Regions from separate parts of the Homo sapiens genome. Here regions 2, 3, 4, 5 and 6 are each linked to region 1. Evidence: promoter capture Hi-C in 16 types of primary human blood cells and fetal thymus (Javierre and others, 2016). All regions are on one chromosome and are shown on one strand. Each heading gives the region's core, a stretch centred on a gene start or on the middle of the fragment in contact. The rest is flanking DNA. Distances are from core to core; before and after follow the strand shown.

Region 1 (3,969 bases), core at 472-2,971:
GTGCAAATCAGGATCTTCATAGTGCATCTCCAGGACTATTTTTGCTGCTATGCTTCATAAAACTTTGATTTACTAGAATTTCCAGGGGCAATGGGAAGAGATGAAGCTACCCAGAGCAGTTATGTCTCTTCCTGACCTTCTATAAAGGACTTTGAGTTCCCAGGCCTTCCCTGGAAAATCACTGTCAGTACTACCTGACCCAATATCCCCAGTGACCTGAAACTCATGGGAAGTTGGGAAGGGGTGATAATAAAGGTTTGGGGAGCACTGGACTAGGCAAGCAGTAACTACATCTAAATTCTGCAAGAAATCATTAGCTGAGGAATACTGAATAAGTATGGCAATTATCATGGCAAGTATTTGCAGTGGTGGTATAGGGGGTGATCTGGACGTCCAGGAAGACAGTCGCCCTTGTTTATTTACATGAAAACCTCTCTTCTCCCATCTAAATTTAATCTCCTGAATGGCAAAAGCATTTCCTTCTGTCTTAGCATCGTCCATATTCACCACGAGTCCTTGCATAGGAGAGATTGGTGTATACATGATGACAACCTGACGAAAATTATCTCCACCTCACCTGAAAAGAATTCCCATCTCAGGATTACAACTGGCCTTTTCATTTGTCTTTGGTCTTGCTAGGTGGTACGTATATTCTAGTAATGAGATTAGGGTCACAGGATATTTTAATCATTCATACGGTTGTATGAAGACACACATGTTTATTTGTAGTTATTCTTTGTCCATCAAACTTACAGTAGTCCTCAGTCTAATGCTTGTTTTCTTAATGTTGGAGGGTGATGACAGCCTATTTTATCTCAGGCTGAAAAACTAATACAATTAAATCAGAGAATCATAGCAGGGAACAGTCATCGTGTTCTACGAATAGCCAGACATTTTTACCAAGGGGTCACTTTCCTGAAACCTGTTTGCGGTTCTCTGTAAATAGAAGTAACTAGGCAGATGTAATAAGCCTAATAGCTCACTGAGGTGGGAATTCTCTGCCTTTGGATTCTGATTGTTACTGCCTTGCTTTGGCTTAGGCATGGATAAACTCTTCTGTGGTGAACAAAAATGGCCTCCAGCCAACCTGGTGGGAGACTTCCCTATCTGACCTCCAACCTTCCCTCGTCTTCCCAGACGAGGGGTAGAAAAGTAGCCCTCACTCCTCCACTCCCAGGAAATGTGCATTTCCCTGCAAGAGGAGAGACAATAAAATTTGGTTTGATAGCTGACACTATTCCCTGTTACTTTTCAGATTTTATTAAAATTAAATGTGTTAATTCTTTGTTCTTTCACCCCAGGGCAATTCTGGAAAGAAAACATATCTTAAGATTGAACAGAAAAACTATTATGAAAAACACCAAGCTCACATTTGTTAAATGACTTTGTGCTCTTGAAAAAAATGTATAAAAAGCACATTGCCAACTGCTCTGCGTGATATCCTTTGTTTGGATTTTAGACGCAGCTTGACTGACACAGAGATCCTGAATAAGAGACTCTTTGGATACTGAAAAGTCTCTTAAATAAGGTGATACACAAATTTCAGAGAACAATTTCAACATTGTTCTGTCGAACGTTATACTCAGTCCTGAACCACATTACTTTCCTGTCTACGTTTCATTTCCTGGGGGCTTGCCAAGTGATAAACAGACCCAGGCGTGTGTGGTAGAGTTCGGGTTTTTTAGCACGAAGTGGGTGGCTGGAGTTTGCTTGAAAACATCAATTGACTTTGTGATCATTACAGAAATGCTGGTGTAAGGTGTTCAGAAGACAATGGAGAAAAAATGGAAATACTGTGCTGTCTATTACATCATCCAGATACATTTTGTCAAGGGTAAGACTTCCAGTTGTCCCTTCTTGTCGGATGGGCCGCTTTAGGGGCGGATGGGGCCTCTGTTCATTTAAAATGCCTTGTGACTGCTGCTGAAATTGATCACCAAAGGACAAATCATTACTAAGGGTTTCAGTTATGTATTTAAGCGGCAGGTATAAGAGAGATGCTAGAATCTAGAAATGATTACTAATGAACACTAAAAATAAGAAGGGAATGGGTCATTTGTGCCACTGCTCTGAGGCATTTTCACCCATTTCCTTTCTAACAGGATCTCTGGAGTAATTGGCAAATTGTGTTTCTTGGAAATGAAATGCTCTCCAAATGGTAGCCAAAACAACTGCGGAAAAATTAAAAATTACAAAGCCATCAACGCTCAGAGATCCTTGTTTAACTTTTTTCTCTCTCAAGTACTCTCTTTCTTTTGGATATAACAAGTATTTCTCATCCAAATACTAAGGTCTTTGGGAGTTGAAAACACGTTGAATTTTAATGAGGCATGTGTAGGTATGAACCTGGGAGACAAAGTGGAATCCTTATGACAGTGGGAACGAGAGCCTAATGGGCCTATTTAAAAAGAGAAGGAAGCAAGATTAGTTCTGTATTCCACAGTATGAGAGTATCATAGTAAGCCTGAGTGTCTTAAGAATTAACTGTGCTTTTCAGACATAGCTATGAAAATATTAAGGAGAATTTCTAAATCAAAAGAGATTTGGAATATAATGCTGTAGATAGGATCAGAGCCATATTTTCAGGCAAAGGATAGCTCACAGGAAGTTACATTAAACTGTACTAACCTCTGCCTACCAAACTTTTGCATCCACAGAAGTATGATAATTCCCATTTGTCAAGTACTTTTACTTTTAAGAGGCTTGTTTCTTCTCAGTTGCTTGTCATCTTTTTATCTTTTCCTTTTGTGAGCTTCAGTGGTACTTGTCACAATAATATATATCATTTCTGTAACAGGATTCCATGTTAATTCTAAAACTGAGGCCAACACTATTGAAGGCATGTCACAGTCTCAATGCTTAACACATTTTAAGTGTCCTGTATCACTCAGTCAGACTGCTGATGGGAAAGAGACTCTACTTATGTCTAGTATTTCAGACCATCGATTAGAGGTGATACTAAGTGGAACCTCTACCTAAGGTTAGATGAGGTCCTTTCAATCCTTGTATATTGAAAGTGAAATTTCTTACTCTAATCAACTAGACTGAATTTGGGAGACAGTTTGGAAGTTATGTGGAAGGAAAATAAAATAAAATAAGTAATAATAAAGTTTAAAATAATAAGCATAACATAGGTAATAGTTAACATTAAGTATAGGTTACTTAGAAGTTATATGTAGGCTAAGAAATTTAAGTAGCCCCTCCCAGCATTGCTAACAAGTTGCAGCTGTGAGCTTATCTCAACCTTCCAAGCTTCTTGCCTGCCCCCAGACCCCCACATATTTCTGTAACTCCTGTTTTACCTTACCCCATCTCTGTCTAGCTTCAAGATTGACTGGTTAAGATAACTAAATTGTAAGTTTTCTCAGAATTGTCACGGGTTAAATAATTTACTGTCTTTGCCTGAAACCTGTATCCTGCCTTGTTTTCCCACCTCAAACGACATATAAGCAAGCCTGCTTTCTTTGTCAGAGTCAGCAGCCATTTTGGGCATGAGTCTGCTGTGGGCCTGGATGCCTGAATTAAATAAAGTTCTCTTTGGTCTCTAAAGGTCTCTTTGTCTTCCTTGGCTGGAGTTTTACTGTTATACTTATGAGGGTTATAGAAAGACCACAGACTCTGGGCAACTGAATTCATTCTTTTACTGGAGGTGTGACTTTTTTTGTTTTGTTTCGTTTTTCGTTTTTTTGAGATGGAGTCTCACTCTGTTGCCAGGCTGGAGTGCAGTGGCATGATTTCGGCTCACTGTAATCTCCGCCTCCCAGGTTCAAGCGATTCTCCTGCTTCAGCCTCCCAAGTAGCTGGGACTACAGGCGTGCACCACCACGCCCAGCTAATTTTTGTATTTTTAGTAGAGACGGGGTTTTGCCGTGTTGGCCAGGATGGTCTGGTTCTCTTGACCTCATGATCTGCCCACCTCAGCCTCCCAAAGTGCTGGGATTACAGGCGTGAGCCACTGCGCCAGGCCTG
Region 2 (3,969 bases), core at 1,047-3,546, 1.8 Mb before region 1:
CTGGGTAATTTATAAAGGAAAGAGGTTTAACTGACTCACAGTTCTGAATTGCTAGGGAGGCCTCAGGAAACTTACAGTCATGGCGGAAGTCAAAGGAGAAGCAGACACCATCTTCACAGGTCAGCGGGACAGAGGAGTGCAAGCAGGGGAAATGCCAGACACTTATAAAACGATCAGATCTCATGAGGCTGACTCACCATCAGGAGAACAGCATGGGGGAAACCGCCCCCATGAACCAATTACCTCCACCCTTGGTCCTGCCCTTGACACATGGGGATTATGGGGATTACAATTCAAGATGAAAATTTGGGTGGGGACACAGCCAAACCATATCAGATGGTATTTACTATGCCAGTTCATTGCTCTGAGTGCTTTGCATAGATTCATAATATTATCCTCCCAGTAATTCTATCAAGTAGGTACTACTACTGTTCCCATTTGCAAATGGGAAAACTGAGAGTCACAGAGTTTAATTAACTTGCCCAATATCACACAGCTATTAGGTAGGGTATCTAGATTTGAACCTAGACACTTGAGGTTCAGAGCCCCTGCTCCCCTGTTTAAGCACGATGCAATCCTGCCTCCGAAAAGTTGGCTATGCTACCTAGTGCAAAATGGAGCAAGAGATTGTAGAATACTTACACTTCCATGCTCTGTTAATCTGGACTCTTGTGTTCTCAGGACTCAAAGATACAATGGAAAAAGCTTTAGATTGAGAATAAAAGGACCATGATTCTATTCCTGAAGTTTCTACTAACTTATCTTCTGACCTGTACAATCAGAAAGTCAGTTATTCATCTGTGAAGTGAGAGGGTTGAACTAGAGCATCAGTGTTCAAACTCTGCTCCTGGAAAGCTTGGGATTTTGCAGAGGTATGGCAGGGTCTGCTTTTCAGATAAGGGAGTGCCAGGGATGAAGAGTTCCTTCTTGACATTGGGAAGTGTTCCTTCTTTTTGCCTTCTGTCATGTTTTATCTTATTGAATGGGTTCAAAATAGATCTTGAAGAGGCAGTGTTTAAATCTGAAGCCACCTCCTTTATTACAATCCCTTCTAGCAGTCTGGCCTTTCTTTCCGGTGTCTATTAATTAATCTGATAATTTTATCACCTACCAGCAAGAGCTAAGGGTGGCTTCAGAATAGCATGCTTTTTCATGGACCTTTGGAAAGACTGTTCTTGCTTTCTTGTTCAAACTTTCTGACTCTAATGATAAAACCTGAAGCTAAATGGAATAGGGAGGTATTTTTATAGCAACCAAGAAGGGTCTTTCAAATTATAGCACATAAATGGTGTATTCTGTTCTCACACTGCTAATAAAGACATACCTGAGACTGAGTAATTTATAAAGGAAAGAGATTTAATGGACTCACAGTTCCTCATGGCTGGGGAGACCTCACAATCATGGCAGAAAGCAAGGAGGAGCAAGTCACATCTTACATGATGGCTGCAAGGAAAGAGAGAGAATGAGAACTAAGCGAAAAGGGTTTCCTCTTATAAAACCATCAGATCTCATGAGACTTATTCATTACTATGAGAACAGTATGGGGGAAACTGCTCCCATGATTCAATTATCTCCCATCGAGTCCCTCCCACAATATATGAGAATTATGGGAGCTACAATTCACGATGAGATTTGGGTGGGGACATAGCCAAACCATATCAAATGGCTACCCATTCGATCTGTACATGTTCCAAATGTGTGGTCATAAACACATGCATGTGCACACATGCATGCAAACAATGCAGCTAAGTATTTTGCTCTTTACTCATTATAAGGAACACATATATACACAAATGCACACTTCTTTTCCTACTAGCTCATGGTGATCCCATCCGCCTTTATCCATGATACTCATCAGCAGACCCACCCTAGTTAGGTTCATGTATAAAGCACTTGGGTTACTACCTTACACTGTAATACAAAAGGAAAAACAGTTATATAAGAGGTATTTATTAAGAAGATGAGACAGAATTCCCTATTCTGAATCTATCAATCACAGCCACTTTAATAACTTAATATGCATCTCAGGGTAGTAAAATTTGTTTTATTATTATTTTTTATTTGTATAGATTTAGAGGTACAGGTGAAGTTGTGTTGCATGGATAAATTGTGTAGTTGTGAAGTCTGGGCCTTTAGCATACCCATCACCCAAATAGTGTACATTGTACCAAATAGGTAGTATTTCATCTCTCACTCCCCTCCCACCTGTCCACCTATTGGAGTCTCTAATGATTATTATTCTAATTTGTATGTCCATGTGTACCCATTATTTAGCACCCACTTATAAGTGAGAACGTGTGGCTTCTGACTTTCTTCTTCTGAGTCATTAGGCTAGCGGCCTCTAGTTCCATCCACGTTGCTGCAGAAGACATAATTTCATTCTTTTTTATGGCCAAGTAATATTCCATGGCATCTATATACCACATTTTAAATCCAATCATTTGTTGGTGGACACTTAGGTTGATTCCAGACTTTGCCATTGTGAACAGTGCTTTGGTAAACGTATGACTGCAAGTGTCTTTTTGATAGAATAATTTATTTTCCTTTGGGTAGATACCCAGCAGTGGGATTGCTGGATTAAATAGTAATTCTATTTTTAGCTGTTTGAGAAATCTCCAAACTGCTTTCCAAAGAGATTGAACTTATTTTCATTCCCACCAACAGTGTAGACGTGTTCTCTTTTCTCCATATCCACTCCAACATCTGTTGTTTTTTGACTTTTTACTAACAACCATTCTGACTGGTGTGAGATCATATCTCACTGCAGTTTTAGTTTGCATTTCTTTGATGACTGGTGATGTTGAGCATTTTTTTCACATTTGTTGGCTGCTTATATATCTTCCTTAAAAAAGTTCTGTTCATATCCTTTCCTCACTTTTTAATAGGGTTATTTGTTTTTGCTTGTTGAGTTATTTGAATTTCTTATAGATTATGAATATCAGCCCTTTGATTGATAAACTGTTTGCATTTTTTCCATTCTGTAGGTTATCTGTTTAATCTGTTGATTATTTCTTTTGCTGTTCAGAAGGCTTTTAGTTTAAGTTACATTTGTCTATTTTCATTTTTGTTATGTTTCCTTTTAAGGACTTAGTAACAAGTTCTTTGCCTAGACCAATGCACAGAAAATTTTTCTTTGGTTTTCTTCTAAGATTTTTTATAGATTCAGGTCTTACATTTATGTCTTTAATCCATCTTGAGTTAATTTGTGTATATGGTGAGACAAAGGGGTCCAGTATTACTCTTCTGCATATGGTTCTCCATTTGTTCGTGTCATCTGTGACTTCTTTCATCAGTGTTCTGGAGTTCTCCATGTAGAGGTCTTTCACCTTCAGGAGATATAATTTGAAGGGCAACCAGAATTCTCTTTAGCCCCATCATATATGTAAAATATCCTACTACTAGATATAATTTTAGGTTTATCTTTTTAGAGGATACATATCTTGGGGGATTTTAATACACTAAGACTGGTTACCTTTCAGTTACATCTTAGCTGAATGGAATTAAGATAATTTCTTTCTACTGAATAAACTGTTTAAGGTAACAAGGACTTCATGCCACACGACTTATATCTCCTATGTAAAGTCCCACCAAGAAATTTGTTCAGATGTTTCAAGAATCAGTGTCTGGAAACACTTGCTTCCCTTAGATACACTGTTTTGCCTCTTTATAGGAAAAGTGAAATGTGTAAATGATTAGTTTAGTAGCAATAAGGACTTTTCTCTGTTTTCACTTTCCCATAAGCTTTGACCTTCTATGTATATATAAGTGAAGTATTAAACTCCCCTTATTCATTTCTAGGTTCATTATCCTATAGTACATGGAATCCAAGGAAGAATTGATCTCCTTATCCCTGTGAATCATCCAGATGTTAACTGCTTCTCAGCATCATGTCCTCCTCGAGATCAATTTGGGAAACTCCTCCCATGGCAAAGACAGCTAGTTGTCTATAATTTGTTTCCTCCTTTTCCT
Region 3 (3,969 bases), core at 837-3,336, 1.8 Mb before region 1:
AGGACGGTGGCCCTCTTTGCACAGCTCTACTAGGCAGTGCCCCAGTGGGGACTCTGTGTGGGCGCTCTGATCCCATATTTCCCTTCTGCAGTGCCCTAGCAGAGGTTCTTCCTTAGGGCTCCACCCCTGCAGCGAACTTCTGCCTTGACATGCAGGCTTTTCCATACATCTTCTGAAATCTAGGTGGAGGTTCCCAAACCTCAGTTCTTGACTTCTGTGTACCCACAGGCTCAACACCACATGGAAACCACCAAGGCTTGGGACATGCTTCCTCTGAAGCAATGGCCCGAGCTGTACCTTGGCCCCTTTCAGTCATGGCTGGAGCTGAAGCAGCTGGGATGCAGGGAACCATGCTGTAAGGCTGCACATAACAGCGGGGCCTGGGCCCAGTCCATGAAACCATTTTTCCCTCCTAGGCCTCTGGGCCTGTGATGGGAGGGGCTGCTGCAAAGGTCTCTGACATGCCATGCAGACGTTTTCCCCATTATCTTGGTGATTAACATTGGGCTCCTTACTTATGCAAATTTCTGCAGCAGGCTTGAATTTCTTCCCAGAAAATGGGTTTTTCTTTTCTATCACATCCTTAGGCTGCAAATTTCCCAAACTTTTATGCTGTGCTTCCTCTTGAATGCTTTGCTGCTTAGAAATTTCTTCTGCCAGATATGCTAAATCATCTCTCTCAAGTTCGAAGTTCCACAGATCTCTAGAGCAGGGGCAAAATGCTGCCCAGTCTCTTTGCTAAAGTATAGCAAGAGTCACCTTTGCTCCGGTTCCCAAGAAGTTTCTCATCTTCATCTGAGACCACCATAGCCTGGACTTTATTTTCCGTATCACTATCAGCATTTTTGGTCAAAGCCATTCAACAGGTATCTAGGAAGTTCCAAACTTTCCCACATTTTCCTGTCTTCTTCTGAGCCCTCCAAATTGTTCCAACCTCTGCCCATTACCCAGTTCCAAAGTTGCTACCACATTTTTGGTTATCCTTAAAGCAGTGCCTCACTATCTCAGTACCAATTTACTGTATTAGTCCATTCTCACACTGCTATGAAGAAATACCTGAGACTGGGCAATTTATAAAGGAAAAAGTTTAATAGACTCACAGTTCTGCATGGCTGGGGATGCCCCAGGAAATGTACAATCATGGCTGAAGGTAAAGGAGAGGCAGGCACATTCTTAATGGAGGGGGAGGACAGAATGAGTGCAAGCAGGGGAAATTACAGCCCCTTATAAAACCATCAGGTTCTGTGAGACTTACTCATTATCGCAAGAACAGCATGGGGGAAACCACTGCCATGATCCAATTACCTCCACCTGGTCCTACCCTTGACATGTGGGGATTATTACAATTCAAGGTGACATTTGGGTGGGGACACAAAGCCAAACCATATCACACTGTATACAAAAATCAACTCAAAATGGACTAAAAACTTAGATTTAAGGCCTGAAGCTGTAAAACTACTAGAGGAAAACACAGGAAAAAAGCTTCTTATCATTAGCCTGGGCAATAATTTTATTTTCGATATGACTCCAAAAGCACAGGCAAGAAAAACAAAAATGCACAAGTAAAATTGCATCAAATTAAAAACCTCTGCACAGCAAAGAAAACAATCAATAGAGTAAAAAGATAACTTAGGCAATGGGGGAAAATATTTGAAAATTGTACATTTGATAAGGGTTAATATCCCAAATATAAGGAACTCTAACAACCCAATAACAGGAAAACAATGTGATGAAAACACTAGCAAAAGACCTGAATAGACATTTCTCAAAAGAAGATATATAGATAGCCAAAACGTATATAAAAAATGTTCAACATCACTAACAATTAGTAAAATGCAAGTTAAAATCATAATGAGATATCACTTCTTACCTGTTAGAATGGCTATTAGCAAGAAAACAAAAGATTACAAGTATTGAGGCAGATATGAAAGAAAGAGAACCCTTGTACACTGCTGGTAGGAATAGTAGATTAGTACAGTCATAAAAAATAGTATGGAGGTTTCTAAAAAAATAAAAAATAAGACTTAATGTGATCCAGCAACTTCACTTCTGTGTATGTATCCAAAAGTGATGAAATTAGTTCTCAAAGAGATATCTGCCCTCCCATGTTAAGCTGCAGCATTTTTCACAATAGCTAAGATATGGAACCAACTTAAGTGTTCATCAGTGGATGAACGGACAAAGAAAACGTGATGTATATACACAATGGAATACTATTCAGCCTTAAAAAAGAGGGAAATACTGTCATTTGTAACAAACCTGGAGGACATTATGCTAATCAAAACAAGCCAGGCACAAAAAGACAAATACTGCATAATCACATTTATATGTGGAATCTAACAATGTTGAACTATAGTAGCAGAGAGTAGAATGATGGTTAGTAGTGGCTGGGGAAAGGGAAAATGGGATGTTAGTCAAAGAGTGCAAAGTTTCAGACAGACAAGTTAAATAAGTTCTGGAGATCTATTGTACAGCATGGTGACCCTAGCTAATAGTAATAATTTCTTAGAGAGTAGATCTTAAATGTTCTCACCACAAAAAGATAATTATTCAAGGTGATGGATATGTTAATTCATTTGATTCAATCATTTCAAGATGTATAAATATATCAAAACATCACATTGTATGCTGTAAATTATATGACTTACTTGTCAGCTATATCTTAATAAAGCTGAAAAAATAAAACAAACTGAAGCTTAAATAATGAATAGAATTACGCCAGAGGGAAATTACGCCAGTGAGAAGATGAACTGAACAAAAGTGTGAAGAAAGGAAAGATCAACAGAAAAGATAAGTAGATAAGAAGGGGCAGAAAGGAGAAAAATCAATATTTGGAAATGAGATTGAAAGAGTATAAGGCACGCTATTGAAGGGCTCTTAATGCTAAATTTAGGAGTTGAAATATGACTCTTCTCAAGAAAACAAAGAAGGGGAACATCACACTCTGGGGACTGTTGTGGGGTGGGGGTTGGGGGGAGGGATAGCTTTAGGAGATATACCTAATGCTAAATGACGAGTTAATGGGTGCAGCACACCAGCGTGGCACATGTATACATCTGTAACTAACCTGCACATTGTGCACAAGTACCCTAAAACTTAAAGTATAATAATAATAAAATTAAAAAAAAAACAAAGTTTTATGAATGTGAGCCTCTAATTGCTGTTTTAAAGAAAAGCGCTTTCTGAACATGTGAGTTAATGTACATGTTCTTAAGCATGAACATGCACATGTAGACTGCTGCTATGATAACATGACACCAGCAGTTACCACCCATGCTGAAAATACTAGAAAAGCTTTGTTTTATTTATAAAGTGAACTAGAGCCATCTTAAAAGATGAGGATGAATGTTGGCCAAAAGTGTTTTGAGGTAATCTTAGACACATCTCTAATGCCAGTACGACCTACTCAGCAATATGATATAATATAATTTATGTAATAATTACAAAACAATGATGCCCTTTAAACTTTAAAAAGTGCATTTGAATGTAAATATAATTTTAAATATGAACAAACTTGACAGTGGAATTCCAGTTTGTCTGCTTCTTAATGAGTTTTGTAAGCTCTTAAAAAAGAAAATAGTTAACCTAATTAATACCTGGGGATGGGAAAGGGATGGTTCTAAATTGTCCTGCCCATTACATATGTTGCATCTATTTATATATTTACCCAAAAAGACCATCTTCATTTATAATTATTAATATAAGTTGAACTGTGGATATAAGATAGAGAGCTAGTTTTATGTTATTAGAATTCAATACTTAGCTCCTGAATTAACATCCATTATCAAAAATGAAGACTAGACTGGTTCCCTTTCAGAATACATTTATAAAATGTCACTTACAAATAAGTGTTTCAGGTTAATTGAGTGACATGCTGTTGTGTAGGCGTTTGAATGCAAAAGTCTGGCTTTTTCTTTCTGCTATGTTCGGAAAACGCTTTTGTCACTTTTTCACCTCCTCATAGGAAAT
Region 4 (3,969 bases), core at 878-3,377, 1.7 Mb before region 1:
GGGATTGCTCTTGCCAAGACCTATGAACTATATCTGATTGTAGAGAAAAATAAAACAGCGGGTGAGGTGGTGCATCCATTCTGCAGATATATCTTTCAATAGGGAAGGCAGTTATAAACGAGGTGACTCTCTCTTGATTTCCATGATTTTAATTTTGTGACATAATGTGTATTCATTTATATTTTCTATTGAGTATGAGTCCATACACAATTAATGGTTAAATTTTTGAAAATATAAAGATTTTTACTGATAAAATTTATCATTCAAGGTTGGGATGCATATACTTTTCGCAGTAAAAGAGCAACAAATTTGTTAGAAAGTAGTTTTAATTGGTATCCTTTAAAAGAACCTTGTAGGATCGTGTTACTTCACATATAGGAGAATATTTCTCTAGCTTGTGGCTTCAGTGATACATTTTTTATGGACTGGTTGCCAGTGATTCTCGCCCATGAAATGTATAGAGAAGTCTGTTGACACTTCTTATCCTCTCTCTCTTTTACCTGATTTGAAGCAAAAATAGTCATTTTGGAATTAAGAGGAAAAGGACAAGTGAACTTTTGACTTAATCTTAACATTGTTGAGCTCCTGAGCTAATGAAAGCAACAAGTTCTTACTTTCAGATTTTGCATTCTGTGACTAAACAAAAAAGACTCCCTCTATTTTTTAAATTACTTTTTAAAAATACCTAATCAGATATTTTATTAATTGAAACCAAAGGCATTTCTAACTGTACCCTAACTTCCTGTCTTGTTTTCTCTTTCAGCTTTGTGTCAGTCTTTCTGTTGTGGAGATTTTTTTTTTTTCAGTCTTTTTGTCTGCCTAGCATTTGCATCCCCTTTCTACGTGAGATTAATCTTGGTGGGAGAAAGAGCAAACTTTAAACTTTAGAAACATTAACTATATAAACTATAAAAACTAAAAATACCAGATACGTTCTCAGCCTGATTTGAAGCAAGGGTTTGGGCAAATACTTCGGGCTCTCTATATTGGATGCACTCATACCAGTTTTTGAGTAGGAAGTTAGTGACACCAAAAAACACGGGAAGTGACTCATTCTCTGATAAAGGAAGTGGTTACAGCACAATTGTGTTCCTGATAGATCAGTGACAACATTATCTAGGACACTCAGTGTTCTAGTTTTGTGGGGGCAGAAGTAGTTTCCTCATCAGCCCAGTTTTGCAGCCTCAATTGGGGCATTGTTCAAGATTCATTGTTCTGAGCAAGATGGTTCCGCTCTCCTGGTGATTCAGAGAGCTACCTATTAGTTTTTAAAATAAACTCTTTTTTATCCTCCCATTTATTCAGTCATGATTGATTTCTTATTTTGCTTGCAAATAAGGACCTTGCTTGATGTATTGTCTATCTCTTAGGCCAAAAGAATAGAGGCCAGAGAAGAGGAGCCAGGCTGGTAGAAACATCTCGCCTTTTCTGCTTGGGTATGCTGTCACCTTTTACAAATGAATAAGCATGTTAATAAGCTGACAAGAGAAAGAGAGAGGAAGAAAACACGTAAAAAAATAAAAATAGGCCAGGCGCTGTGGCTCATGCCTGTAATCTCAGCACTTTGGGAGGCTGAGGTGGGCGGATCACAAGGTCAGGAATTCGAGACCAGCCTGGACAATATGGCGAAACCCCGTCTCAATTAAAAATACCAAAAAAAATTAGCTGGGTGTGGTGGCGGGCGCCTGTAGTCCCAGATACTCAGGAGGCTGAGGCAGGAGAATCGTTTGAACCCAGGAGGTGGAGGTTGCAGTGAGTCAAGATCACGCCACTGCACTCCAGCCTGTGCAACAGAGATAGACTGTCAAAAAAAAAAATTCACGGCATTTATGGCTTTAAGGATCTGTGTAAAAAACTACTGGTAACACTTCAGGGTATCTTTAATGATATCAATTGATATGTCTCTATCATTCATTCATATATCCTTCATTCAGTAGGTAGCCAGACTCTGTGCTTCTTGGTCTCAAGGATGTTTTGAGTTTGAAAAAACTGAAGTTTTACTTCCAACCTAGGTTTTCATTTTCTAAGTCTATACTTTTTGATAAAGTTGTGCTAGACGCCCTTGAAAGAGAGGAGAGAGAGAATGCCTCCTACATGAAATAAAAGAAAAGGGATTACTTTTACTCACAGTGAAGAGTTTCCTTACACCCAGTTTCCTTACTCCTAGATCTGGAGATCTGTGATATCTCCAGATAGGAGTGCAAGGACACAGAACCACTGTAGGGATTCCTCAAAGGCCACAGCAGGACCCTGCTAACTATCAGTGCTGTGTGGAGGAAGCAAGACTTCAGGAGGAATGTTGGTGGGTTTCAGGCTCGCCAAAGTTTGCTCCATCCTCAGTGTGGTGCACAGAAGCATCGGTCAGGAAGAAGGCTGGATTTGGAGGGACCCTGTGGAACAGACTCCAGTGTCTAGGTAGTAAACATTGGACAGATGGCCAATGACCCAGGAGCCACCCTATGTCATTGTGCTACTAAGACCTTCACATACTTCATTACCCTGGTAGTAGAGGGTCCTCAAGAATTGCTGAGATAGATATTTGACTATCTTGGCAAGAAGTGGACAAGAAGTAAGTATTAAGTACATTTATAGAAAATAAAGAAATGCATTATTATATTAGTTTGTTAGAGCTGTTGTAACAAAGTATGTGGACCCTATGGGTTAAACAACAGATATTTATTTTCTCAAAAATATGGTGGCTAGAAGTCCAAGTCAAGTTGTCAGTAGGATGATTTCTCCTGAGGCCTTTCTTGTCTTGTCTTCTCCCTGTGTGTTTACTGTGTGTGCATGGTCTTTGTGTGTGTGTGTATGTGTCCTAATCTCCATGTTTTAATAAGTACACCACTCATATTGGATTAGGGCTCCCCCTATGACCTAATTTTTCCTAAATTACCTTTTTAAAGACCCTATCTCTATATACTGTCACACTCTCAGGTACTGTAGTTTAGAACTTTAGCATATAAATTTTGCGGGACACAATTTATTCCATAACAATTATATTTTGCCCAACTGAGTTTGAGATTGTGTTCAAGTTTTCTCTATTATGATGTTACAAATTATTGTTACTAATAATATAAATAATAATAGCAAATAGGTATTAGGCACTTTTAAAAAACATTTTAGGTGATAACTCATTTAATCCCTGCAATAGTCTAACATAAGAGATATATTGTTCACATTTTATTAATCAGAAAGCTGAGGCATAAGATTTCTGTAACATTTGTAAACACTAGGCTGCACTGTATCCCAATAAAAGTAATACAGTAATTACTAAGCATGGAAGGTATGGCATAATTGATCCTCCAGTTGGATCAGAGAAGGGATTTTTGCTCACTATGACCTTTCTCATTTTGTTCTTGATTCCTGAAGGTTCTGTCCTATCATTTAACATGGGTAGCTGTATTAGTCAGGGTTCTCTAGAAGGACAGAACTAATAGAATACATGTATATATAAAGGGGAGTTTATTAAGGAGTGTTGACTCACAGGATGACAAGGTGAGGTCCCACAATAGGCCATCTGGAAGCTGAGGAGCAAGGAAGCCAGTCCAAGTCCCAAAGCTGAAGAACTTGAGGTCCAATGTTCGAGGGCAAGAAGCATCCATCACAGGATAAAGACATAGGCTGGGAGGATAAGCCAGTCTAGGCTTTATTTATTTATTTATTTATTTATTTATTTATTTATTTATTTTTACATTCTTCTGCCTGCTTTTATTCTGGCCGCAGTGGCAGCTGATTAGATAGATTGTGCCCACCAGGATTGAGGATGGGTCTCCTTTCCCAGTCCACTGACTCAAATGTTAATTTCCTTCAGCAACACCCTCATAGATATACCCACAACGACACTTTGCATCCTTCAATCCAATGAAGTTTACACTCAATATTAATCATCACAGTAGCCATTAGTAATGCTAAAATTGGCTGGCTAGGAATTAGAGGTGAGATAAAACTCTTGAAATTATCTTTTTTTTT
Region 5 (3,969 bases), core at 783-3,282, 1.2 Mb before region 1:
ATAACAAAGTATCACAGATTGGGTGGCTTAAACAACAAAAATTTATTTTCTCATGATTGTGGAAGCTAAAAGTCTGAGAGCAAGGAATCAGCAGGGTTATTTTTTTTTTCTATGACCTTTCTCCTTGGCTTGTAGATGACCATTTTTTCCTCTTCTACCTGTCTTCTCATTGTCTTCTCTCTCTACATGTCTATGTCCAAATCTCTTCTTACAAGGATACCATTCAGATTTTTAGACCCACTCTAATGGCCTCATTTTAACTTGATCACCTCTTTAAAAAAACTTATCTCCCAATACAGCCATATTCTGAGGTACTGGAGACTAGGGATTTAAGATATGAATTACAGTTTGAAGGACTCAAACTGCTTGCTGATAGTTTAGAATTTCAAAATCAAAAACCTCTACTTTACCCTTTCTAACCAAAACAAGTAAAACATATTCAAGTTAAGAGGTTTAAAGATAATACTGACTTTCAAATGGAATGTGAAATTCCTCAAGGGCCATGAAAATGTCACAGAAATTCTTTTTGCCCCGGTCCCCCACACATCCAATTTTGATTAGATTAAAACCCACACAACTGGCTATTACTAACTATTCCCATTAGGGCTACCTGAGAGATTTATGAAATGATCTGTTGTTACATCTAAAACAGTTATTATTTCTGCTAATTAATAATTCATTTAAACTAAATATGCAGACAAAATACTAACCTGTCTTCAGGACCCAGTAGCAAATTACTAAATCAGGCCTGATTCTACCTTAGTATTCCAAAGACTATGACAGCATTTGTCAACAAATATTAAAAATAGTGTCATTTGGTTCTGTGTCGGTGACAAAGATCATGACACTTTTCAGAAAGGCCAAGCAAAATCAGTATTTCTGTATGATTCAAAGTATAGTGTGATAAGAGATAGAGAGAAGACTAAGAAAGGAACAGAACATGAAAAGCATTATGTATCAAAGATCTTGGACTCCAATATCCAAAATAAATTCACAGGGTGCCTATTCTGTTCTACGTACCATTTGAATCCCTAAATACACAACAATTCTCCTGACAGAAATGATTTCTGGTCTCATGGAACTCAGTATCTCACAGGGAAGACACACAATCCCCAATAGGGGGAGGTCCTTTGAAGAATTTCATATAGTTAAGCCACATGATCAGATTTTTAACAATTCCTAAGAATCAGATCTCCCAAATTTAACTTAGTTGAATGTTTAAATTTAATTCAGATTTATTTTTTTTTCTTGGATAGAAAAATAAAGATGCACGTTAAGCTTCTAGCAACATTCTGGAGGTTAGAAAGCTGAACTCAAAATCATCTGTCCCCATTCTTGTGATACCAGAGAAAAAGTGGCTGGGCAGACGTGACACTAAGTATTCCCATTCTATAACCCTGGTTCCTTCCAGGCTGTGTTAATCTGGCATTCCAGGGCTAGCGATAAAGCCCTGGGGTGCTTTGTTTACAAACCAAGGCAAAATAATTTACAGAATATTTTCCTATAAAAAGAATAACTTCAAGAGGTTTTAAACTTTTCCTAATAATACTGACTTTTAAGAACTCTTTGAAATTGCCTTCAAAAGCAGTTTAAAATAATAAAAGAATTCAGGATAATAATTTTAAGATCCCATATTCTTTCAGTGGTTCTCAAAATGTGGTCTCCAGACCACATCAGTATCACCTGGAAACTTTTTAGAAAAGTACGTTTTCAGGTCCCACCCTCAACGAAATGATCAGAAACTCTGAGGGTAGACAGAGCACTCTGGGTCTGAATGAGAGCCCCATGGTATCCTGAGGCTGTTAATCTGGGGAATCACACTTTAAGAATCACTGTATTATTTTGTCCCAATTAATATTAATCACATTGATCATTTCATCTTATCACTAGCCACCCTTAAGTGACTGAGCAGCTTCTCAAAGCCACCCTCAGAAAATAAATCATTCTTACCAGTGAGGTTATTTAAGAAAGCACGCTGCATGATATCAAGGTAATTCTAATAACAACAACAAAAAAGCAGAAACAGCACAATGGGGTTATTTGGAAAGAGAGAATGATTATTTGAATAAATATATACTCATCAGTCTTGCAACATGGCAATGGAAAAGCTGTGGTCATATAGGTCAAACTTAGTATAAGTAAATTTATATTTTGTTTCCTGACTTATTTTCTGCCAACTTTTTTCCACGGTGTGTGTACAAAAAAAAGTTATCAAGCTGGAGAATCCTAAACAACAGGAATCTTATTTTACACTTCATCATTTATCTTAAGAACGTTTTCAGGCCAGGTGCAGTGGCTCACGCCTGTAATCCCAGCACTTTGGGAAGCCGAAGCAGAGAGATCACTTGAGGTCAGGAGCTCGAGACCAGCCTGGCCAACATAGAGAAACCCCGTCTCTACTAAAAATACAAAAAATTAGCTGAGTGTGGTAGTGGGCGCCTGTAATTCCAGCTACTTGGGAGGCTGAGGCAAGAGAATCGCTTGAACCCGGGAGGTGGAAGTTGCAGTGAGCTGAGTTTGCATGACTGCAATCCAGCCTGGGTGACAGAGCAAGACTCTGTCTCATAAAAACAAAACAAAACAAAACATTTTCATTTCTATTACTTTATTATAAACCACCACGGCACACATTTACCTAGGTAACAAACCTGCACATGTACCCCGGAACTTAAAATAAAATTTTTAAAAAAGAGTACACCAAAAAAAATTGCTAATTGGAGAAACCAGTAAGCACAAATTCCTCAAGTACTTCACAAAGTGTAGCATTTTTGCATTCTGTAGCACATGTAAGCTTCAGTGGAAAGTTGTACAATTCGACATGGCTGTAGCTTGAAAAAGAAGCATGCTATTTCTTATAGGCTTTAATAGGTAAACTCTATTAAAATCATCTTTTTACCAGTAAAGAATTTCTTAATAATTTGCTGTTTGTAAAATAGTTACCTTTTTTAAAGAATGTATGACTTTTTTGGAAATGTATTTTTAAGTGCGTTCTTTCGGACCCACAAATTCAGGATGATGGAAAGGAAGACAGTTGTGGTTTTGCTAAATGAGTAAATGTGTGGAAGTATTACATAACCAAAGGGGTTCATGTTTTAGTGCAAGTGGCTAGAATTTTAAATAGCTCTAAAGTTCCCTTTCTATTGATTTATATTCAGACAAAAAGCCCTACTGTATAAACCAGGAAAGAACAAGCATGTAGATGGATAATACAGCTATATTAGCTGCTATGTCAGCAGTTTCCATACTCAGATTAATGCACAGAGACTCTCTCTTGACATCTGTTTATGTGCCACAAGCCAGACAAACAAAGGCAATCTACTAACCAGCATAAATTACACACACATTTCTTGTCTCTTATTACCAAATGGGTTATTGCCACTCTCAAAAAAAATGTTAAACATTTTTCTTTAACAGAACAAAAGTCTGGACACACTCAATACACATCTCTTGAAATGAAGAACTGTTGTATTTTTAGTATACGTTCTTTGAATGTTATTTCAATTATTTATTAAGTACTCCCAGGCATCTAGGTGTCAAGGAAATAATTTCTTGTGAAATCTCACTGACTCTTTGTTAAATTCTAGTAGATGCTAGAGAGAATATGTTAATTCTCTTGGAGGAATAACATGCAAGATGCAGAGATTTAATTGTTAAAAAAGATTCAGACCTCTGTCCTCCTCATGCTAATGAAGTGTTTTCTCATTAGACAATTAGAAGGGTAGTCTTCACTCACGTCAGATATGCCTGCTGTTCTACTTTCTCGCACCCTACCAATTAAAAAAAAATTAAGTTGCCATTGAGAGTAGATTGACAGCTACAAAGCAATTTGGGAAAAGTTTGCTGTCAGGTAAGCCTGAAACCGGTTTCTGAGACAGTACATGGCTCCTTCCTATCTTAGAAAAATACAGAAAACCATAGTTATTTTGCAGGAAAATATGTTATCTGTTGGAATGACCTGGCTTTTGTGGC
Region 6 (3,969 bases), core at 688-3,187, 1.2 Mb before region 1:
GGTGGCTTTCATGTGGTGTTGGGCCTTCGGGTGTGCAGAAGGCAAGAGTTGAGGTTTGAAAGCCTCCATCTAGATTTCAGAGGATGTATGGAAACACCTGGATGCCCAGGCAGAAGTCTGCTGCAGGAGAAGAGCCCCCATGGAGAACGTCTACTAGGGCAGTGCAGAGGGGAAATGTGGGGTTGGAGCCCCAGCACAGAGTCCCCATGGGAGAGCTGTGAGAAGAGGGCCACTGTCCTCTAGACCCCAGAATGGTAAATCCACCAACACCTCACACTGTGTGCCTGGAAAAGCTGCAGGCACTTAATGCCAGCCACTGAAAGTAGCCATGAGGGCTGTACCCTGCAAAGCCAGAGACACAGAGTTGCCCAAGGCTTTGGGAGCCCACCCCTTGCATCAGCGTGCCCTCAATATGAGACATGGAGACAAAAGTGCTCATTTCAGAGCTTTAAATTTTAATGACTGCCCTGCTAATTTTCAGACCTTCTTGGGGCCTGTAGTGCCTTTGTTTTGACCAATGTCTCCCCTTTGGAGTGAGAACATTTATCCAATGCAGGTACCCCCATTGTATATTGGAAGTAACTAACTTGTTTTTTATTTTACAGGCTCGTAGGCAGAAGGGACTTGCCTTGTGTAAGATGAGATTTTAGACTTGGACTTTTGTGTTAACGCTGGAATGAGTTAAGACTTTAGGGGACTGTTGGGAAGGCATGACTGCATTTTGAAATTTGAGAAAGATATAAAATTTTGGAAGTGCAGGGGCAGTATAATATGGTCTGGCTCTGTTTCCCCACCCAAATCTCATCTTGAATTGTAATCCCCATGTGTCAAGGGAAGGGCCTGGTAGGAGGTAATTGAATCAGGGTGGTGGACTTCCCCCTTGCTGTTCTCATGATAGTGAATGAGTTCTCAGGAGACATGTTTGTTTGGAAGTGTGTGGCACTTCCCTTTTTGCTTTTTCTCTCCTGCTCCACCATGGGAAGATATGCTTTGCTTCCCCCTTTGCCTTCCTCCATGACTGGAGATAAGTTTCCTGAGGCCACCCCAGCCATGTGGAACTGTGAGTCAATTAAACCTCTTTTCATAAATTACCCAGTCTCTGGTAGTTCTTTATAGCACTGTGAGAATGATGAATACACCCATACATTTTGGAGGTTTTGTCCGTTCCTTTTTATTATTTTTTCTTCATTTTTGTCTGACTGTCTTATTTGAGAGATTCTTTCCTCAACTTGGCTTATTCTGCTGTTAATACTTGTGATTCCATTGTGAAATTCTTGCATCGTGTTATTCAGCTCTGTCAGACCTGTTAGCTTCTATTTTACACAAACTATTTAGTCCCTCTGCCATTCTTAATAGAACTAGAAAAGGCTATTTTAAAATTCATATGGTACCAAAAAAGAGCCTGGAGAGCTAACAAGGCAATCCTAACCAAAAAGAATAAAGCTGGAGGGATCACATTACTTGACTTCAAACTATATTACAGGTCTATAGCAACCAAAACAAGATGGTACTGGTACAAAAACAGGTACATAGACCAGTGGAACCGAATAGAGAGCCCAGAAATAAGGCTGCACACCTACAACCATATGATCTTTGACAAAGCTGACAAAAACAAGCAATGGAAGAATGAATCCTTATTTAATAAATTGTGCTGGGATAACTGGCTAGCCATATGCAGAAGATTAAAGCGGGACCTTCCTTACACCTTATAAAAAATTAACTTAAAATGGCTGAAGACTTAAATGTGAAACCCAAAACTATAAAAACCCTGGAAGATAACCTAGGCAATACCATCCTGCACATAGGTACGGGCAAAGATTTCATGACAAAGATACCAAACACAATCACAAAAAAAGCTAAAATTGACAACTGGGATGTAATTAAACTTAAGAGCTTCTGCGCAGCAAAAAGAAACTACCAACAGTGTAAACAGACAACCTACACAGAGGGAGAAACATTTTGCAAACTATGCATCTGACAAAGGCCTGATATATTGCACCTATAAGAAACTTAAACCAATGTAGAAGAGAAAAATAAACAACTCCATTGAAATACGGAAAAAACATAAACAGACACTTTTTAAAAGTAGACATATATGCAGCCAACAAGCACGTGAAAAAAAGCTCAATATCAGTGGTTACTAGAGAAATGCGACACCATCTCACACTTGTCAGATGGCTATTGCTAAAAAGTCAAAAAATAACGGATGCTGGAGAGATTGTGGAGAAAAGGGAACACTTATACACTTTTGGCTGGAGTATAAATTAGTTCAACCATTGTGGAAAGCATTGTGGTGATTTCTCAAAGAGCTAAAAGCAGAACTACCATTTGACCCAGCAATCCCATTACTGGGTATATGTCCAGAGGAATATAAATCATTCTACTATGAAGACACATGCATGTGAATGTTCACTGCAGTCCTCTTCACAAAAGCAAAGATATGGAATCAACCTAAATGCCCATGAATGACAGACTGGATGAAGAAAATGTAGTACATATACACCAAAGAACACTATGCAGCCATTAAAAATTGAGATCATATTTTTTGTGGAAGCAAGGATGGAGCTGGAAGCCACTATACTTAGCAAACTAATGCAGGAATAGAAAACCAAATACTGTATGTTCTTATTTATACATGGAAGCTAAAATATGAGAACTTATTGTATTAGACCATTTTCATGCTGTTGATAAAGACATACCTGAGACTGGGCAATTTACAAAAGAAAGAGGTTTAATTGGACTTACAGTTCCACATGGCTGGGGAAGCCTCACAATCATGGTGAAAGGCAAGGAGGAGCAAGTCACGTCTTACATGGATGGCAGCAAGCAAAGAGAGATTTTGCAGGAAAGCTCCCCTTTATAATAACTATCAGGTCTTGTGAGACTTACTCACTATCACGAGAACAGCACAGGAAAGTTCAGCCTTTGTGATTCAATTACCTCCCATGGGGTCCCTCCAACAACATATTGGAATTTAAGATGAAATTTGGGTGGGGACACAGACAAACCATATAATTCTGCCCCTGGCCCTCCCAAATCTCATGTTCTAACATTTCAAAACCAATCATGCCTTTCCAACAGTCCCCCAAAATCTTAACTCATTTCAGCATTAACTCAAAAGTCCATAGTCCAAAGTCTCATCTGAGACAAGGTCAGTCCCTTCCACACATGAGCCTGTAAAATCAAAAGTAAGTTAGTTACTTCCTAGATACAATAAGAGAACAGGCACTGGATAAATACAGCCATTTGAAATGGGAGACATTGGCGAAAATGAAAGGACTTACAGGCCCCATGCAAGTGTGAAATCCAGCAGGGCAGTCAAATCTTAAAGCTGCAAAATAATCTCCTTTGACTCCATGTCTCACATCCAGGTCACGCTGATGCAAGAGGTCGGTTCCCATGGTGTTGGGCAACTCTGCCTCTGTGGCTTTGCAGGGTATATCCCCCCACTTCTCGCTGCTTTCATGGGTTGGTGTTGAGTGTCTGTGGATTTTCCAGGTGCACAGCGCAAGCTGTCCATTGATCTACCATTCTGGGGTCTGAAGGACGGTGGTCCTCTTCTCACAGCTCCACTAGGTGGTGCCCCAGTAGGGACTCTGTGTGTGGGCTCCAATCCCACATTATCCTTCTGCACGGCCCTAGCAGACGTTCTCCATGAGGGCCCTGCCCCTGCAGCAAACTTTTGCCTGAACATCCAAGGTGTTTCCATACATCCTCTGAAATCTAGGCGGAGGTTCCTAAACCTCTATTCTTGCCTTCTGTGCACCCACAGTCTCAACACCACATGGAAGCTGCCAAGGCTTGGGGGTTCCACCCTTTGAAGCAACAGCCCAGGCTGTACCTTGCTTGGCCCCTTTTGGTCATGGCTGGCGTGGCTGGGACACAGGGCATCAAGTTCCTAGACTGAACACAGCATGGGAACCCTGGGCCCAGCCCACAAAACCATTTTATCCTAAGCCTCCTGGCCCT

What was found. The method cuts DNA at HindIII sites, captures the fragments that hold promoters and counts their contacts. A CHiCAGO score of 5 or more calls a contact.
Region 2: a contact is called between a fragment that was not itself captured here and the fragment with the promoter of CD96 in region 1, in 5 of 17 cell types (naive CD4 T cells, naive CD8 T cells, naive B cells and 2 more). The highest score is 6.6, in naive CD4 T cells.
Region 3: a contact is called between a fragment that was not itself captured here and the fragment with the promoter of CD96 in region 1, in 10 of 17 cell types (naive B cells, naive CD8 T cells, non-activated CD4 T cells and 7 more). The highest score is 18.5, in naive B cells.
Region 4: a fragment that was not itself captured here is called in contact with the fragment with the promoter of CD96 in region 1 in 1 of 17 cell types (non-activated CD4 T cells); the score reaches 6.6 in non-activated CD4 T cells.
Region 5: a fragment that was not itself captured here is called in contact with the fragment with the promoter of CD96 in region 1 in 4 of 17 cell types (activated CD4 T cells, naive CD8 T cells, total B cells and 1 more); the score reaches 6.2 in activated CD4 T cells.
Region 6: a fragment that was not itself captured here is called in contact with the fragment with the promoter of CD96 in region 1 in 1 of 17 cell types (naive CD8 T cells); the score reaches 6.5 in naive CD8 T cells.

The regions. Positions count from the first base shown.
Region 1 is chr3:111,540,476-111,544,444 of GRCh38, forward strand. It overlaps CD96 (CD96 molecule), which reads left to right and starts at 1,722. Exons shown (of 14, transcript NM_005816.5): 1 at 1,722-1,834. The coding sequence starts at 1,774. LOC105374039 (a long non-coding RNA gene) reads left to right here. Exons shown (of 3, transcript XR_001740846.1): 3 at 1,460-1,528. The HindIII fragment of the contact is 7,700 bases long and covers 1-3,250 here.
Region 2 is chr3:109,718,904-109,722,872 of GRCh38, forward strand. All of the region lies in intron 2 of LOC124906267 (a long non-coding RNA gene), which reads left to right. Among named protein-coding and RNA genes, the nearest start is that of MIR4445, 120 kb to the left of the region's middle. The HindIII fragment of the contact is 2,886 bases long and covers 854-3,739 here.
Region 3 is chr3:109,737,285-109,741,253 of GRCh38, forward strand. The region is part of intron 2 of LOC124906267 (a long non-coding RNA gene); the gene reads left to right. Among named protein-coding and RNA genes, the nearest start is that of MIR4445, 140 kb to the left of the region's middle. The HindIII fragment of the contact is 1,213 bases long and covers 1,481-2,693 here.
Region 4 is chr3:109,806,045-109,810,013 of GRCh38, forward strand. All of the region lies in intron 2 of LOC124906267 (a long non-coding RNA gene), which reads left to right. Among named protein-coding and RNA genes, the nearest start is that of MIR4445, 210 kb to the left of the region's middle. RefSeq lists an enhancer at 757-1,956. The HindIII fragment of the contact is 7,875 bases long and covers 1-3,969 here.
Region 5 is chr3:110,308,497-110,312,465 of GRCh38, forward strand. No RefSeq gene overlaps it. Among named protein-coding and RNA genes, the nearest start is that of MIR4445, 710 kb to the left of the region's middle. The HindIII fragment of the contact is 1,513 bases long and covers 1,277-2,789 here.
Region 6 is chr3:110,328,934-110,332,902 of GRCh38, forward strand. No RefSeq gene overlaps it. Among named protein-coding and RNA genes, the nearest start is that of MIR4445, 730 kb to the left of the region's middle. The HindIII fragment of the contact is 6,518 bases long and covers 1-3,969 here.